Regions from separate parts of the Homo sapiens genome. Here region 1 is linked to region 2. The links are contacts of gene promoters, found by promoter capture Hi-C in blood cells and fetal thymus (Javierre and others, 2016). All regions are on one chromosome and are shown on one strand. The core of a region is centred on a gene start or on the middle of the fragment in contact, and the rest is flanking DNA. Distances in the headings are between cores, read along the strand shown.

What was found. The method cuts DNA at HindIII sites, captures the fragments that hold promoters and counts their contacts. A CHiCAGO score of 5 or more calls a contact.
Region 1: a contact is called between a fragment that was not itself captured here and the fragment with the promoter of GRIP2 in region 2, in 2 of 17 cell types (neutrophils and endothelial precursors). The highest score is 7.6, in neutrophils.

The regions. Positions count from the first base shown.
Region 1 is chr3:14,241,499-14,246,870 of GRCh38, forward strand. No RefSeq gene overlaps it. Among named protein-coding and RNA genes, the nearest start is that of LSM3, 65 kb to the left of the region's middle. The HindIII fragment of the contact is 4,287 bases long and covers 778-5,064 here.
Region 2 is chr3:14,535,728-14,541,612 of GRCh38, forward strand. GRIP2 (glutamate receptor interacting protein 2) reads right to left here and starts at 4,615. Exons shown (of 24, transcript NM_001080423.4): 1 at 4,542-4,615. The coding sequence starts at 4,581. RefSeq lists an enhancer at 428-1,387. The HindIII fragment of the contact is 3,735 bases long and covers 3,514-5,885 here.

The sequences.
Region 1 (5,372 bases), core at 1,671-4,170, 300 kb before region 2:
GGGTTTTACTCTGTCACCCAGGCTGGAGCACAGTGGTGCAATCATAGCTCACTGCAGCATTGAGCTCCTGGGCTCAAGTGATCCTCCCACCTCAGCCTCCTGAGTAGCTAGGACTATAAGCACCCAGATTCTGTTTTAAATTTCTTTGTTTACTTTCTTCTGCCTTCCTGTGGGTTACACTAGCATTTTTAAAATTCTATTTTGGAACAGACATGGTGGCTCATGCCTGTAATCCCAGCACTTTGGGAGACCAAGGTGGGAGAATCCCTCGAGCCCAGGAATTAGAGACCTGCCTGGGCAACATAGCAAGATTTGGGCTCTATATAAAACTTTTAAAAAAATAGCCAAGTTCCATGGTACGTACCTGTAGACCCAACTACTCGGGAGGGTGAGGTGGGAGGATCACTTGAGCCCAGGATACCAAGGATGCAGTGAACCATGATTACACTGCTGCACTCCAGCCTGGGTGGCAGAGTAAGGCCCTGTCTCTAAAAATAAAAGTAATTTTGTTTTGATTTATCAATAGTGTATTTGAGTGTATCTTTTCATATAGACTTTTGATGGTTTCTCTAAGTACTAAATTATGTATACATAACTTATCAGCCTACTGATGTAATTATTTTACCAGTTTAAGTGAAGTATAGAAACCTTAGCTCCCTTTCTGTCCCTTTACCTGCACCTGTTAATAGCTGTCTTAAATTTTTCTTCTACATACATGTGGAACCACAGCAGCCGGTGTTGTAATATTTGCTCCATCCATCAAACATGATTTAGGGAAGCTTATCTGGGGGAAAGGGAAAGCCTGTTTGGTTTACCCATTTTTTTTTTGTTATATTCTTTCTTTTTTCCTGATGTTCCAAAGGTCCTCCTTTTATAGCTTTCTTTCTGTTCTTTTTATTATGGCTATTTTGAGATCCTTTTCAGATGATTCTAATATCTCCATCACCTTCATCGATTAGTTGTCTTTTATTCATTCCATTTGAGATCTTCCTGATTCTTGATATGTCAAGTGAATTTTTATTAAAACCTGGAAATTTTTGTATTTCGATGAGACTCGGGGCCTTATGGAAGCCTTCTCTGTAGCTAGCTTTCTCTGAACTGTTCTCACTGGGGCATGTGTGTGGCACTCCTCGTGGCTGACATGTGAAAGTAGAAGTCCAGGTTTCCCACTCAGCCTCCGCTGACACCAAGGTGTGGGGGTTCTTATTACTGCCAAGTTGGGGGAGAGAGTTCCTGCTCCCCAGCAGTCTCACTGACAGTTTGATGGAGGTGGCCTCATTGCTGCTGGGTGCTGCTGAAAGTCCTGACCCTCCCAAGACCTCCTTGGACACACTGGAGAGTGGGGAGAGGGAGAGACTCCACATTATTGCTGAGTGGGAGTGAAAATCCAGAGTCTCCATGTGGGTGGACTCCATGAGGGTGGGGAAGGATGAGCTGATTGCCAGCCAGCGAGGGTGAGGCCTTCGGCTCTCTACTTGGCCTTCTTGGACACCGCTCCAGCCAGGCTACTGGGATCCTTGTTACAGCCTCACAAGTGGGGGCGTCTAGGCTCCCACTCACCATTTGCTTTGTATGATTTGTGTGGTGTTTAGCTGGAGTAGAACAGGTTGCCTAAAAGTTTTCTCTCTTGCTAAGCTGCCTTTTCCTGGCCATTTGGTGAGAGAGCAGGCTTTTGTTGAGGTTTTCTTTGTGTTTCCAGGTCACCAGCTTCTTCCGCTCCAAGTCTCTTCCGAGGACAATTTGATTCCTATCTGAGCTTGGGAAGTCTGTGCTCATATTACTCAGGGGAGTCGCAGCAGCACCGGACCTGCCTCAGAGGATCTCCTGAACTTGGAGAGAGATGATTATGGATTGCAGACAGGAACATAATATGAAAAATGGAAGAAAACCATGTCATTTGTACTTTCAGTATGTGTTGGGTGTTTGAAAAGTGATTTTTTTCATCACGTGTCCTATCTTTATTACTCCTTTTTTTTTTCTTTTTGTTATTACGATGAAAAGTTCATGGTCATTGTAGAAAAATGAGAAACCAAGGTTAAGTAAGAAGAAAACTTTGGGCAGGAGGATCACTTGAGCCCAGGAGTTCAGGCTGCAGTGAGCTATGATTACACCACTGCACTCCAGCCTGGGCAGCAGAGTGAGACCCCGACTCAAAAAACAAAAAATTTACAATAAAGTTGAACTTTACTGGGCATCAAGAAAAAAAAAAAAAGAAGAAGAAGAAAACATTGACCTAAATAAGAGATACTTGGAAGCTGTGTAAGTCGCAGGTGGTACGACCACAAAGCCGGCCTGCCTGTGTCCACCAATGCAGCCCCTCTGACATTTCTGTTTCCTCCCTCTAAGCCTTCAGGGGCATCTGCCCAGTGCCAGGTCCTATGCTGAGTGCAGGTGGTGGATGTACAAGTCAGACCTGCAGAGCAGAGCCTCTGCCTGTTGACAAGAAGGAGGGGAGGCTGCCCCAGGCAGAGGGAGTGGCATTGCAGAGACGCAGAGACATGAACAACTTGGTGCAGCCCTTTCAGCGTTGCTAGAGCATTGCGGGGAAGGAGGCTGCGGTGCTGGGCTGTGCAGTCCTAAGTTTGCACCTGTTCTGTGGGCCACAGGAGAGCAGAGTCTGAGATGAGGACAGTATTAGTTTGCTAGAGCTTCCATGACAAAATACACAGACTAGGGGGCTTAAGCAACAGACATTTATTTTCTAACAATTCGGGAGGCCGGAAGTCTAAGATCAAGGTGTTGGCAAGTTTGGGTTCTCCCAGGGCCTCTCTCCTCGGCTTGCAGGTGGTCACCTTCTCACTGTGTCTTCACAGTCTCTCCTCTGAATATGCCTAGCCCTGGGGTCTCTGTGTGTCCAATCTCCTCCTTTTATAAGACCTCCAGTCAGATTGGATGAGGGTCCACCTTAACAGCCTCATTTTAACTTGACTATCTCTTTAGAGGCCCTATCTCCAGATATGGGCATGCTCTGATATACTGGGGATTAGGACTTCAACATAAAAATTTCTGGGGTGGAGAAGGAGACGCAGCACAGCCCCTAACAGGAAGCGAGCAGAGGAGTGGCTGGATCCTAGCTCTGTTACATAATTGGATTTCTGGCATCATGGAGGATGGATTGCAGGGAGAGGGGGCTCAGAGACTGTCAGATTTTTAAAGAAAAGGCAAGAGACAGTGGAGATACAAACAAAGGTGGGAGCCATGGGCGTGGAGAGCAGCAGGTGGGTCAGGGTGGGAGGGACAAGCAGAGAGAGGCGAGAGGGGCATCAGTGAGCCCACGCACAGGTCTTGGAGGCTCCTGGCCCTGGCACCCCTCTAGGAGAAGCCCTCTCACTGGGATCAGCCTCCAAGGCTGGCCTCCTTCCTCTTCCCTCTTGATCCCATCTGGTAAACCTGCTTGCTGCTTTCCCCAAACAGAATGCATCCAAAGAGATCCACAGGAACACACAATGCAATTAAATTTCTGGAAACTAAAGACAGAAAAAAATTGTGAAAGTAGGTCAACTGCAGTGTAGCTGATTTACAGAGTCAATAATAACTCCACAGGTGTGCGCAGAGCGGCACACTCATTAATGGGCCCCTTTTGCCAGGTTTTCTGTATCAGAATTATGCTAGTTTCACAAAAGGAATTTGGAAGTTTTCCTTCTTTCTCTGTGCACTGAAATGCTTTAAATAGCATCGGAGTGATCGTTCCCTAAAGATTTGGTTGGGTTCACTTATAGGCCTGGTGATTTTCCCCCCTTTTCACATCTTTATGAAGGTGGTCCGTTGAGACCATCACCACAATCAAGATGGCAAGCATTTCCATTGCCCCCAAAGTCGCCTCGTGCCCTCCTGTTTACAACCCACCCCTCCTCCACCCCCGTCCCCAGGCAATCCTTGGCCTACTTTCTGTTTTTATAGATTTGTTTGCGTCTTCTAGAATTTTATGTAAATGGAATCAAACAGTACTTTCTTTGGCCTTTTTCACTTAGCATAATTATTTAGAGATTCACGCATGTTGTGGGTATCCAGAGTTTATTCATTTTTATTGCTGAGTAAAATTCCATTGTATGAATATACCACCATTTGTCTATATATTCACCAGTTGGGGGACATTTGAGTTGTTTCCAGTTTGAGGCTATTATAAATAAAGCTGCTATAAACATTCTCGTACAAGTCTTTGTGTAGACATATGTATTTTTTTCTCTCTTGGATAAATACCTAGAAGTGGAAAGATTGGGCCATATGGTAGGTGTATGTTTAATGTTTTAAGAAACTGCCCATTTTCCAAAGTGGCTGTTCCATTTTACATTCTCACCAGCAGCGTACGAGAGCATTCCGGTTGCTCCATATCCTTGCCAGCAGTAGATACAGTCTTCTTCTGATTTTTTGAGTGGTTGCAAATTGACAACTTTCTCAAATTCTTCTCTTTATCTTCGACTAGGTTACCTAACCCACAGATTCTCCAGTGAAGCTCAGGTACCTGTGTGTCATTCCAGGGTGTGAGCTGGGGGAAGACTGAGGGAAGACGGGAAGTGAAGCAGGGAAGGAGAGAAAGAAAACACAGGGTGGTGCATGATTGAGCATGTCACAGCTTCAGAGCAAAGCACACCAGGTCACTCAGCCATGTAACATCTCCAGAGAGCCAAGACTAGCAGAGGAAGAAAGAGGCATCTCCTGGTGATTTTCCATCATCTGTCTTTCACTGGTCCAAATTGACCCTACGGGCCTTAACTCCCCTGAAAGTGTTGTGGCCCCTTCAGACAGCTGCTGGGGAAGCCACATGCTACATCTCAGGGCAGAGTGCTTCATCTGGGTCTAGAAACAGTGAGACAAGCCAGAGCCTCTGCATGACCAGTCAGGTTGGACCAGGGCACCAGAGTTGCTGTGGTTCCACGGAAGGTAAGAGGCCAGGCCTAGGTGCAGACGTTGCCCCGTGGGAGGTGGAGCCCGTGGCAATTAGGAGATGAGCTGGTGTGGGGCCTGTGCTCCCCTGAGCAAGTAAGTGAGGCTGGGGGTGTTGGTGGGGGTGCAACCAGTGGAGCTGAGCAAACCCGGAGAGGTCCATGAGTTGAGTCAAGTACAAGCTTCACGGAGAGTTTGCATCTGTGAGCTCCTCTTATCTCCCGCACAGTCCTGGAATGTAAACAGGATGTAAAATCTGAAGCCCTGGATTTCTGATGAGGAAAGTCTGGTCTTCTCCAAGTGACCCATCCAGGATCACACATCAACCAAGGGTGGCACACATGGGTCTTCAGACTCTGAGCCCAGTGCTCTCTCCACTGTGCTAGGTAGTTTCAAAACATTCTCAGATTTACGTTTCTGGGACTATGTTTGGTTTGGGGGCACCTGCTGGAAGACCGAACAGCACATCCCGAATCTTGTTTTCTATT
Region 2 (5,885 bases), core at 3,365-5,864:
AGAGCCAGGATTGAAGCCCAGGCCTTCTGGCTCCCTAAGGGGTCTGGCCCTACCCTCTGGGTACCTTCCTGCCTACTCCCCCATCCATGCAAGCCTGGAAGTTGCTGTAATGCCTGCAGCCCCGGGGCTGTTCGGCTCCAGGCAGAGCCCCAGCTCCTTTGGGCGTTCCTCCCTGGCCACTGAGGGCTGGAACAGGCCAAGGGCTCGATGGAGATGCCTCAAAGCCAGTTACAGGCTGACCTCTGAATGACAGTTCCAATCCCCACGGGCGACAAGCCTCCCAGGAAGCCCAGCTTCCATGGGGAGAGCAGCATAGAAAGATCAGATAAGCTCGGCAGAAGCACGTTTTTCAGGGAGACAAAAAGAAATGCATCAATACATTTAAAAATTTGAAGCCTCATTCATTTGTTGCCAAGGATTGCAAAGAAAAAAATAAAGAACCTTAATAAGTAGCACCCAGTGTTGGGCCCTTCCCTGGGCCAGGCCTGCTCTAAGCACTTTATGAATGCTAAGTCAGTTAATTGTCCTAAGAACCATGGAGGGAGGCTCACCGATTGTCCCCAGTTTACAGATAGGGAGCCTGAGGCCCAGAGAAGCCACTGAGCTGGTGAGCTGCAGAGGCACCTGGAACCCAGGGCTCCCTGACCTCACAACAGACCATGCCCTGAACCCTTGGCTCTGCTCTTTCCCTCCAAACAGGAGGGCAACAGACCCCAAATGAGAAGCATCAGGGCACTGGGAAGGTGACAGCTCCAGTATCCCAAGAATACCTAAGTTAGGGCTCAGGCACTCACAGGCTGGGTGCATCAGGGCTAGCAGGACCCATGGCATCACCTGGAGAGGCCGCCACCCCCACAATCCTCCTCCACACAGGGAGAGGGGCTCCTGTCCAGCAGGCCTGAGCCACACGCAGGCCAACATCCCACCATGGGAGAGCGGGGGCGCAGTCTCAAGTTGGGGGTTGGCCTTCTGCGTTCTGGGTCCTGCTCTCCTGCCCTACTCTAAAACCAGCAATGTCAAGGAACGTGACCTCAAAATCAGGGTCACCCACAGAACCATTCAGTTTCCCAATGGCGGCTGCCTGCAGTCACAAGAAGACTGTGTCTAGCTCAGGGAGAGTAGAAGCAGAAGTCCTCACCACAACTGTCAGTCCCCGGTCCCCTGACTTCACCTCCTGATGCTCGCCCTGGCCAGCTCCACTCCAGCACACTGCATTTTCTCACTTAATCCTCATAACCACACTGCCACTTGGGCACTGTTATTCTCCCCATTTTACAGCTGGGAAAACTGAGGCATGGAGATGCTAAGTGACTTGTTCCTGGTTACACAGCCAGAAGTGACAAAGCGGAGATTTGACCCTATGGGCCCACCCCACCTTGGCAACTGCACTCTAAAGGGAGGTGAAGCCTTCCTGGACACATCTGTCCTTTCGACCCAAGGCCCACCAGACTCACATCCCCCTAGGGCCTTTGCATCGGCTGTTCCCTCTGCCCACAAAACTCTTCCCCAGACATCATCAAAACTCCCGTCTCAGCTCCTTCGGGAACTTGTAGAAATGTCACCTCCTCAGGGAGGCCTTCCCCATCCGCCTGTTGGAACTTACACACGCACCCTGTACCTCCACACCTCCTCTCCACTCCCTCCCTGCTTCATGTTCCTCTGGGCAATCAACACCATCTAAATATTTACGACTATTTTTACTGGGATGTCAGCTCCAGGGGGCCGGGCTTCTGTCTGCCTGCTCACTGCTGTGTGCAGCGCACACATTGTCTGGCATGTAGTACATGCTCAGCAAATATTTTTTTAATTCAATTCCCATTTACAGATTAGGAGAATGAGAATCAAAGAGGTGGAATGAGTTTCTCAAGGTCAGAGACTAGGAAGAGACAGAGCCAGGACGCAAACTCAGGCGAAGGATCCCCCATGGCCACAGCCCCTGCTGTGGAGTAGGAGGCCAGGCCTGCCTGAGGAGTCTCAGAGCCAAGGGGTAGGCCTGGTGAGGGCCCCTCGGAGGAGTGGGTAGCCCAGGGCACAGCAGGGGGACCTTCACACATGTACACCCACACCCACTGAGACTTCCCTGCCCCCAGCATGGCAGCAAGTGCCTGCTCAGACCTAGCAGGCCTGGAACAAAGATGTCTTTGTGGCTGCGGAGTCAGAGCAGGCCTCCCGTCCTCAAGGCAGGAGAGTGAACATGGAGAGGGACTTCCTGCCAAAATCTGTGTTCAGGCCTACTGTGTGCCCCAGCCTGGGCCAATGGAGATAGGTCACAGTCCCTTCCTGCCAGAACTCTGGGGTTAGTGACAGGAAAGCAAGACTCCCTGGAGTGAGACGACATGCCCAGGGTGTGGGGCCTGAGAAGGGACCCACCCAGAGTCCATCAGGAGCAGAGAAAGGGCATAGGGCTGCCTGGTCCACAGAGCCCAGCTCCAATCGGGGCACTCACTGACGCACACTGCCAGTGGGCTGACTTCTCAGGGCTGCAGTCTTCTGTGCCAAATGTGGAGGTATATGGCTGTCCTTACCAGCAACAGGGGAGGTCACATGACCAGGCCTGGCCAATCAGAGGCTCAGCGATCCATCAGGGGTGGGCATGTGATACAAGTTGGACCAATGAGAGCCGTTTCTGGGGCATTTGCTGGAACTACTGGAAATAGGCTCTCTTTCCTTAGGGATGACTGAGCTGGTTGACCTTAAGTTTGAAGGTGCCAGGAACTCTCAAGGAGAGGAGAGAGTCTGCCTGGAAATGAAGCTCACTAAAGTGAAGCAGAGCAAGCTACGAAGAGACCCAGAGTCCTAATGATGTTAATTGAGCATCTGGATCCCACTGTGCCTGAAGCTCCATCTTTACACTTTTTGGAAGAAGAGCCTTGGTGCTGATGCAAACTGAAGCAAGTGTGATCATGAGGTTCTGTGACCTGGGGAGGAGACCTAGGGTGGAGGCTACAGTGGTGAGGGTAGAGGTCAAGTAAGTCATCAGAGAGAGAAAATGTCAGAGAGGTCAGGAAGGGCCTTGAATGCAAGGCTTAGGAGCTGAGCAGATTTGTGTTTTGGCAAGCTTCCTCCCATGGCAGCAAAGGGGTGGAGGCCAGGCCAGGGAGGAGACTGGGCAAAGGCCCAGGCAGTTGATGCTGACCCTGGGCCGAGGTGGAGGTCACAGGCCCATGAGGAGGGGGAGACACCTCCCTGGCAGTGCCCCAGGTAAGGTCTCCAGGGCACTGCTGCCTTTGTGGCCCTGACCACAGCAGACCAAGGTGACCCCACTCACCTGGGCCTTGGGTTGAAAGAACAGATGTGTCCAGGCCAAGAAGGCAGAGCCTCCATTTACAGTGCAGTTGCCAAGGATGGGTGGGCCCATCGGGTCAAATCCCAGCTTTGTCACTTCTGGCTATATAACCCTGAACAAGTCACTTAGCAGCTCTCTGCCTCAGTTTCCCCAACTGCAAAATGGAGAGAATAACAGTACCCAAGTGGCAGTGTAGTTATGAGGATTAAATGAGAAAATGCACAGAAAGCTTAGAAAAGAGCCTGGCCCAGAGGAAGCTCTCGACAACAGCCAGCTATTATGATTATGAGTGTTATTTTTCCTGGGTCGCTAAGGCTGGGTCCAGAGGTGACCTGGCTCTGCTCCTTGCCATGGGAAGGGAGGTGGGAATCAAAGTCCACTGGGCCCTCAGAAGCAGGGCTGGGGGCTCTGCAGTAAAAGTCATCGGGGTGTCAATCCCAGCTCGGCCACTGCCCTCCCTGAGCCTTGGTTTCCTCCTCTGTCCACTGGGACCACAGTCCTTGCCCTTGGAGCTGTGGTGCAAAGATATGTCAAGAGCGTGGGAAGAAACCAGTGAGGCAACCCCAGGGCAGTGAATGCAGTATGTTCTGGTCCAGGCCCCAAGCTCCCTCTTTGGAGGAATAGGGTGAGCCCAGGCTGAGGCTGGAGAGACAGATGGAACAATCGTGTCTGCCCCTCCCCTGGGTCCCAGCCTCAGCACACCCAGGAATGTGGCAGCTGTGATCCCCCATCCCACACATTCCCAGAGCCCCAGGGGCTCACCAGTCAGACCCCCAAACCAGAGTTTCTCCTCCTGCCGAGAACCAGTCTCCTGCCCAGCTGTGCCAGCACAGGAACTCCTCACCACCACCTTGCCCATGGGCCTTGGGCTCTCACCCCTCTGGGTCGGACACTCACTCCCACCAGGCAGCTGTGCAGATCCTGAGATTGGGCAAAAGGCTTCGCTCACACCCAGATAGGACCAGCCTTCCCCCTACAAGGCTGAGCACTGCCCTCGGAACCTCCAGACCCGCCTGTTCTGCCTGCCTGTGCTGGACAGCCCTGGGGGAGGCTCAGCCATCCTGCTACAGGACAGTGGCCAGGGTCAGACAGACAGCCCCAGCAAGTGTCCTGCCCCACCCTCCCCAAGCCCTGGGTCTCCAGGGAGTGGCAGTCCCAGGTCTCAGCCATCCAGTCCCCTCTCTCTGGGCAGCAGCTCCAGAGGGATCTATGTGTTCAGCCCCATCACTCTGCCCACAGACCCCCCATTACGTACCCGCCTCTCCAGGGGTCTCCCGGCTGAGCCCACACAGCATGTTCGCTATTGTCTCCCCTGCTGCCCACCAACTCCCTCGGGAGCCACGCTGCTTGGCCCTCCCTCCCCTCCCCAGGGAGGGGCTGTGGGAGGGAAGCTCACAGCTCCCACTGGCTGGGCACCGAGTCCACCCACTGCAGCGGGCGGCTCTCTGCTTAAAGGGGACATGGCTATTGTCAAGGCTGGCTCCAGGACAGGGTCCAACATGCCCCACCCCTGCAGCCTGGGTCTGGACAGGGGGTCTTTGAAGGTGGCATGCCTGGGGCTTCCCCCAGGGCTCTCAGGCAGAGAGAGAGCCTGCTTCTAACTTGCCCTGGGACTTTGGCAAACGACTCTTCCCTCACTAGGCATCAGTTTTTTCATCTGGAGACAGGGAACAGTGCTTTCCAAACTTTTTTTTTTTCTAAACGGCAGATTCCAAGAGAATTTGCACAGAACCCCAGGACATAAGCTAGATGAAGCACAGACTCTTTGACTGCATGAACAATGCCAGGGCGTCTCTGTAGGTCTCAGCTTAGAAACCCTTGAGCTTGGAGACCCTCCAGGGCCCTCCCACCAATGTTCCAACTACCTCTCCTAGGTATCAGTTTTCCCTCGGTAAAATGGGACTTAGGAAAGATGAACCCGGCAGCCTGCCACGTGGAGTGGCCACCCAGCTTTTTGTGAAGACCAAGTGAGCTGGGTGGAGGATCTGCCCGCCTCTGGGCTTGATAGGCAGGGCCAGTTGGTCACAGGCTCCAGCCACACCTGGCAGGCTCTGCCCCGTCCCAGACCCAGCTGGGCCTTAGCCTTGCACACTCCTGGGATTCCTCCACATTGGCTCAGGACTGACCAGGCTGATCTTAATGGACACCTGAGGCTCCTCCTCTACCTGTCTGTGAGAAGGGGTGGCAGGCTGCACCCAATTTCCCCTGCCCTCCATCCCACCAGTGTGTGCTGGCACCAACTGAGGGTCAGACACCAAGAAGGGTGGGGTGATGGTGACAGGGCACTGAATGGTGGATGTCAACAACCTGTACAACTGCACAGTGCGTCTGGCAACAGAGAACCAGACAGACAAGGCCTGGCTCCCATGGAGTTCCTGACCGCGTGGGAACACACGAGCCTCATATTTCTTCCATGTGCCCTGCAGCTAGTGGGAGAGGGCTGCCCGGTAGTTAGGGACCCGAGGTTTCTTGTGGGTTCCCTCCAGAACAGTGACCCCAGCATGGAATTTAGCCACAATTCCTGGGCCGCCCCACACTGGCTCCTGCCAGCCCAACGCTAGTGGCACCTTTAGAATAATCCAGGTTCTAAATCTGGGGC